2 separate regions of the Homo sapiens genome follow, and region 1 is linked to region 2. The links are contacts of gene promoters, found by promoter capture Hi-C in blood cells and fetal thymus (Javierre and others, 2016). All regions are on one chromosome and are shown on one strand. Each heading gives the region's core, a stretch centred on a gene start or on the middle of the fragment in contact. The rest is flanking DNA. Distances are from core to core; before and after follow the strand shown.

Region 1 (3,308 bases), core at 399-2,898, 54 kb after region 2:
TTTTCAGATGAAGTCTGCTGAACCCAAAAATATGAAAATGATTTCCCAAGGATTGTAAAAATAACTGCTAAGGAGATGCTGCTAACTTGATCACAAAAGCAAGATGAGTAGAAGGCTTTCTTGCACTGTGCGTGTCTCTTGTATGTGTAAAAGTGTGTATGCATGTCGACTGCATGTCGAGTGTGCAGTGCAGAGATAAGAGAGGAAATGGGATAAAGTTCAGTCTATAGCATACTATGCTATTAGACTGCATTAAACTGCTACAAAGTTTCTTTACTCCAAAAAGTAGACAGGTTAACTGTTGGAAACTCTGTAATTATTAGATAAAATTAACAGTACTTTACAATTATATGTATGTCACTTTACAGTTTACAAAGTTATTAAGTAGATATTCAATTTGATGCCCTGAAATAAATTTAACTTCTTTGCCCTCCCTTCTCCCCTCCATCAAGGACAGAGTAAGGAACACTTAATCAGGAAAGGCAATATAATTGCATCAATCTGTACAGAACCACAAAGAATAAAGGGTAGGAAGGTAGGACCTTGAAGAGGGCCACAGGGACTTCAAGGAAGGAGGAAACCAGAATGTTAAACATGAGGGAAGCCCAGGGTTCACAGGAGAGTTAGGCACCATACGGGGCAGGTTGTGTTCGCCACATAAAAGGAGGGGCACACAGCATAAGTTTCACATTCTAAAATAATATGAAAAGACCATAACTGAAGAGCTGAATTTGGAATTTCTGGTTTTTCACAATACAAGTAGATGATGACCACCAACCATGGTTTCTGAATGAACTGGGTTCAAAACATATCTGGTTGCAACAGAGGGCTTCCTTGGACCCTAACATTTGAAATTAAACAGAGGTAATTTGAGGAGCTGCGATTTTACACAGTGGTGGCATCCTGGGGAGCTTCTATTCCATCAGTCAATTTTAATATCTCACAATCGTGGAAAAGGAGTTTCCGAGCAGGGACGAGCAATATCGATGGGAAGCCGATACTTGGGCCATCTCTTGGAGATTCCTGCTGTAAGGACGGCAAGTGTTTCTCCAGAGAAAGCACTTGCCTGGGTATGACTCAGGGCCGGGCAGGAATTCACACTATGAATCCGGGTGGTGGGAAGGCGGAGAAGTATGCCTACAAAGATTAAAGAGCCAGGAATGGAAAACACACTAAAAACCGTCCCAGTGGGCAGCCTGCCTCCCCACAAATAAGAAGACCTTGAATCCTGAGCATAATCAGGGAGACAAAGCAATGCCCTGGATGCCACCAGCATAGACAAAGCCAACGGAAAAAAAAAAAAGAAAAGAAAATGCATGATTCAGTATTTACACACACAAAAAGAAGAGTGCAGAAGCAAGCAAGAAACTAAAGAAAAAGGAGGCTGGGTGCGGTGGCTCATGCCTGTAATTCCAGCACTTTGGGAGGCCAAGGAAGGTGGATCACTTGAGGTCAAGAGTTCGAGATCAGCCTGACCAGCATGGTGAAACCCCGTCTCTACTAAAAATACAAAATTAGGCGGGCGTGGTGGCCCATGCCTGTAATCCCAGCTACTTGGGAGGCTGAGGCAGGAGAATCGCTTGAACCTGGAAGGCAGAGGTTGTAGTGAGTTGAGATTGCACCACTGCACTCCAGCCTGGGCAACAAGAGTGAAACTCCATCTAAAAATAAAATAAAATAAAAAATATAATATAATATAAAAAATAAACTAAAGAAAAAGGAACAATGCTCACACCAAGGGAGCTGCCGACAAACCCCACTGATGCTTCCCAGCAGCACTACAGCTTGGCTAATCCCAGCTTCCCACTGTACCTTTCAAAATGACAAGGGAGAGACATGAGTTAAGCATTGACCCCACCTCAGCATGGGGTAAACATCTGAGATTTCTGCTGCCCTGGGTGTGGTTACGTGGGATTACCATTCTGGGTGACTCACTGAAATGTACTCACAGTGAGTCATGCCTTCAAATGACATCTCAAGTTCTGCCTGCTTGGAGATACATCTGGGGATCTTAAGGGGTGAGGGACTACTCAACAAGAAGGAATTTAGCCTGTCTTTTTAAATAAACGGCATTTCTTTTTCCTAGAAAAATGGGAAATTCTTCAATTCTCTAATACAGGGACACTGAGATAACAAAGAGGAAAGTGTCTGGTTGGAGGTTGGGAGGCCACCCTGGGGTCTCTCCTACAAAAATGGAAAAGAAAAGAACGGTGAGAAATCAAGCAAAGCACAAGAAAGTTTCCCTTTGCTAAAAGGGAAAAGATGCCCCACAATGGCCATAAACATGAACTGGGGATAAGGAGGAGAATGTCTCTTCTTGGCACCCCCAAACAAACGTTAATTACCCCTCCCGGAGAAGACGATGTGAAAGATAAGGATTCAGAGGTTCTAAGTCCTGGAATCTAAGCCACACTCTACAGACCTTCTCAGAGACCTTATACTTAGGAAGAAACAAGAAAGTAAAGAAATTCAAATAGATAAACCGAATAATAAGGAAGTCCTTACCCAGTGAGACCACGTTCCCATAATTCTCTAACATCACTTCTCTGTAGAGGTCCCTCTGAACAGGGTCCAGGTATCCCCATTCCTCTCGAGTAAGGTGCACAGCCACATCCTCGAATGTCACAAACTCCTGAAATAACACATCCTGGCTGCTCTGAGGAATGAGAACACTGTAGCACCATGGCCAGAGAATGAAGATCATAGAGAGGGTATCCACTGTGTACTTACGTTGAGGAGGAGGGAGAACAGATTAGAACCTACGGAATAAAGCCCATAACCCTTAAACATCTAATAAGCACCCATCACACAACCATGGACAAAGAGAAAACAGAGTTTGCTCATGGCACTGGGGAGATGGGAAGTTGGTTTATGTGAAGTCCAGGTCTCCGAAGAGGATCAATTCCCAAACTGGAGTCTGCTATTGAAAAAAATTCCAGGCAAGGTCTACAGATGGGATGAGAGAGAGGCCACACTCCATCAGTAGCAATAGTCCCTGAGGAAAAGCAGAGGGTTCCTCAGCTCACCTGGTACCTGGCTGTCAAGAGCGCAGCTGCCTGGTCTCCTGGGCTTCCCTCACGGGGAAGAGCAGGCACCTGAGGAACAGGTGGAGCTGAGGGAGGAGAAAGGAGTGAAGAGTGAGAGCAGCCCTTTCCCAGGGCTCCCTTTCAGAGGAGGCCTCTCCAGCCCAAGGGGTGTCAGCAGGACCCTCCTCAATACTCTAGTAAAACCAATGAACATTTTTCAGGTATTGGGTGTGTCTACTCTGCTTCGTCTCAGTACTTGCATGCCTTATGCGTGTTTTGACC
Region 2 (3,168 bases), core at 440-2,939:
ATAAGGGCTTAGATCAGGGTGGTGGCAAAGAGTCAGACAAAATCAAGACGTATTTTGGAGATTAAAACCAACAAACTTGCTGATGGCTTAGATGTGATGGTGCGCTCAACCTGAAAAAGACAATGGAGCAACATATATACCATTATGACAAATGACCTAAAGATTTCTAACTTGTACAGGCTTTACTCTTTAGAAAGCATGTGAACACATATTTCATCTAATACTTAAAACACTTCTGTAGGATGAGTGCTACTCCTCCTACTTCTCAGAAGAAAAAAAAGAGACTAGATGATAACTGCCTCCCAAAATACATGGTACAGATTGAAAAAAAAATGTGAAGTCAAAAAGAGAGAAAACTAATCTAAGTCCAAGTACTCAAGGAAAAGAAGAGGCTTGAAGTAGACTGGAGAATGAGTCCTATTTACCTCCAAGTGGATTATGCGGAAGACCTAGACTGGGAAGACAGACTTGGAAGTCCAAAGCACCAGGGGAAGGAGATCCTGCTTGTCAGAAAACGGAAAGATCACCTGACTGGAGCAGAGAATGGGCAGCTGGCAGGAGGCACACCCCAAAGCTTCTGCTAAATATTCTATTGTGAGTTTGTGTATTTATCTACCCCCACTTAAACCAAGTTTATATTTTCAGTCTATTCATTGACTCTGCAACATTGAGATTTCTCTTTCATTCCTTTCTAGCTATTGCATTGGTTCACTCCACTAGTGCATTTAATGCACTACAGTGCAAATGTTTACCCATGTGTCTCCCTCTAACAGATTCCCTGGAGGCAAGAAAGATCCTCATTCATCTTTTATCTCTGCCATTTGACAAATAGAAATTGCCCCATTGCTATTCTTTATCTCCCCCCACCCATTGTGACTCTTTTGTTTTGTTTCTGAGACAGGATCTCAGGGTTTTATCACCCCAGCTGGAGACCAGTGGTGCGATCACTGCAGCCTTTGCCTCCTAGGATCAAGCGATCCTCCCACCTCAGCCTCCCGAGTAGCTGGGACTACTGGCGAGTGCCACCATGACCAGCTAATTATTTATTTTTGTAGAGACAGGGTCTCCCCATGTTGCCCAGGCTGGAGTGCAGCGGCATGAATGTAAGTCAGTGCAACCTTGAACTCCTGGGCTCAGGCGATCCTCCTGCCTCAGCCTCCCGAGTAGCTGGGACCTCAGGCGCGTGCCACCACGCCCGGCTACTTTTCAATTTTTGTAGAGACAGGGTCTCGCTATGTTGACCAGGCTGGCTCATCACTATTCTTTAAATAAGTGTCCTATGTGATTACTTTCACTTTGCACAGAGTTCTGCTTTGGTTCAAGATCTCTTCGGGTTCGTGGCCAGCCCTGCACTAAGCCAAGCCTGGCAGAGCGGGATCAGCCTCGCTCCTACCTGAGCCTACAGCGCGGCGGCCCCTCAGCGTCCAGACCCGCAGGGCCTCGGGGCCGCTGAAGGCAGCTCCTGAGAGACTTGCCGCCCTCAGCCGGGGCTGAGCGGAGGGAGACGGGCTCTACTGCAACCCCGCTGCCGCCGAGCCCCGTAGCGGCACCAAAACCCGTCCCCGCGCCCGTTTACCACTTCGCCCGCCACCCGCTGCGGCCCTGAAGAGGCTCTCACCCGCCGCGGCCCTGAAGGGCCTCTCACCCGCTAGGGTCGCCAGTGCTATCCGCGGTCCGGAAGTGAGCTGCGGACGCTGTTAGACAGGTGCGTAAGGAAAGACTCGCTTCCGTGTCCTCTCTAGGATGCTCGGAGGTCTCGGCGGATGCGTCTCGATGGTTGCTGATCCCAGCCTGCTGTTCCGAACCCGGCGAGGCGAAGACCACCAGGGCTTCCCCAGGATTGACTGCCCAGCTCGAGGCGCTCTGTGGCTAGGCCCCTTCCACTTCCGTGCCATTTCACCTGCTTGCCCTCCGTGGAAAGGACTCGGTGCATCGCCAGATACACTACTGGACACAGCACCTGCCCCAAGGGGCTTTAGAGTCCAGTCGGTCAATGCGCGACTATTCCGGCTGCGAGGGCCTTGCGCGAGGCGTAGGGGCAGAGGAGATAGGGGGCGCACTGGATCTAACCGGCTCACTTAAGAGGCTCCTGACCCCGGGTAGTGTGCGTGCGTGTGTGTATGTGTAGTCAGGGAAGGCTTCCTGGAGGAGCCAGCATCGGAGCTGTTTTTTGTGGGGGGTTTTTGTTTGTTTGTTTGTTTGTGTTTTTTGAGAAAGAGAGAGAGAAGTCTTGTTCTGTCTCCCAGGATGGAGTGCAGTGGTGAGATCATAGCTCACTGCAACCTCGAAGCCCTGAGTTCAAGCAATCCTCCCACCTCAGTCTCCTGGGTAGCTGGGACTTTTTTTCAATTTTTTGCAGAGAGGGGGATCTCTCTATGTTGCCCAATCTGGTCTCCAACTTCTGGACTCAAGCGATCTTCCCCCCTTGGCCTCCCAAAGTGCTAGGACTGCAGGCGCAAGCCACCGCGTCCAGCCTGAAGGCAGTCTGTCTCAACTGGGTGGCCCAGTGTTACTCCAGAATCCACTCAGGAAACAGGAAACCCTCTTGTCTTACTCTTCTCCAGCACTTTGCAAAGTGTCTGGTACAATATTTGCTAAAAATATACACTTATAGAGTAAATGAACTCCTAGAATATAACATAGGTGTTAGACCATCTCACTTTATCCTCCATGTCTCTGTCCCACTTTCATATTTTTCTTGTCTGCCCATATTTGACTTGGGTTTATGTCTTCACCTTTTTATTAATAATCCACTTTTCAGCTGTTTCTAATGTGCTACAAAATCCACAGTTGTTGTTTTTTTGTTTTGTTTTGTTTTGTTTTTTAAGAGACGAGGTCTTGCTGTGTCACCTAGGCTGGAGTACAGCGGTGCTATCATAGCTCACTACAGCTTCCAACTCCTGGGTTCAAGCAATCCACCTCAGCTTCCCAAATAGCTGGGACTACAGGCATGAGCCACCACACCCAGCTAATCTTTAAAAAATGTTTTGTAAGGACAGGGTCTCACTATGTTGCCCAGGCTAGTCTTAAACTCCTGGGCTCGAGCAATCCTCCCCACTTGGCCACCCATATTTTTGTTTTAATTAATATATTTTTTCCATTTCTAGAATTTCTATTTGATTTTTTCCAAATATTCTAGATCGATCTTTTAAAAGAATTTACCGATAT

Evidence for each region. Contacts are between HindIII fragments. The CHiCAGO score rates a contact against its expected background, and 5 or more counts as called.
Region 1: a fragment that was not itself captured here is called in contact with the fragment with the promoter of ZSCAN25 in region 2 in 1 of 17 cell types (naive CD4 T cells); the score reaches 5.0 in naive CD4 T cells.

The regions. Positions count from the first base shown.
Region 1 is chr7:99,561,692-99,564,999 of GRCh38, reverse strand. All of the region lies in intron 2 of ZNF655 (zinc finger protein 655), which reads right to left. Among named protein-coding and RNA genes, the nearest start is that of ZNF655, 4.7 kb to the right of the region's middle. The HindIII fragment of the contact is 3,376 bases long and covers 1-3,308 here.
Region 2 is chr7:99,615,467-99,618,634 of GRCh38, reverse strand. It overlaps ZSCAN25 (zinc finger and SCAN domain containing 25), which reads right to left and starts at 1,689. Exons shown (of 8, transcript NM_145115.3): 1 at 1,619-1,689; 2 at 1-110. RefSeq lists enhancers at 1,654-1,973, 1,564-2,543. The HindIII fragment of the contact is 2,601 bases long and covers 577-3,168 here.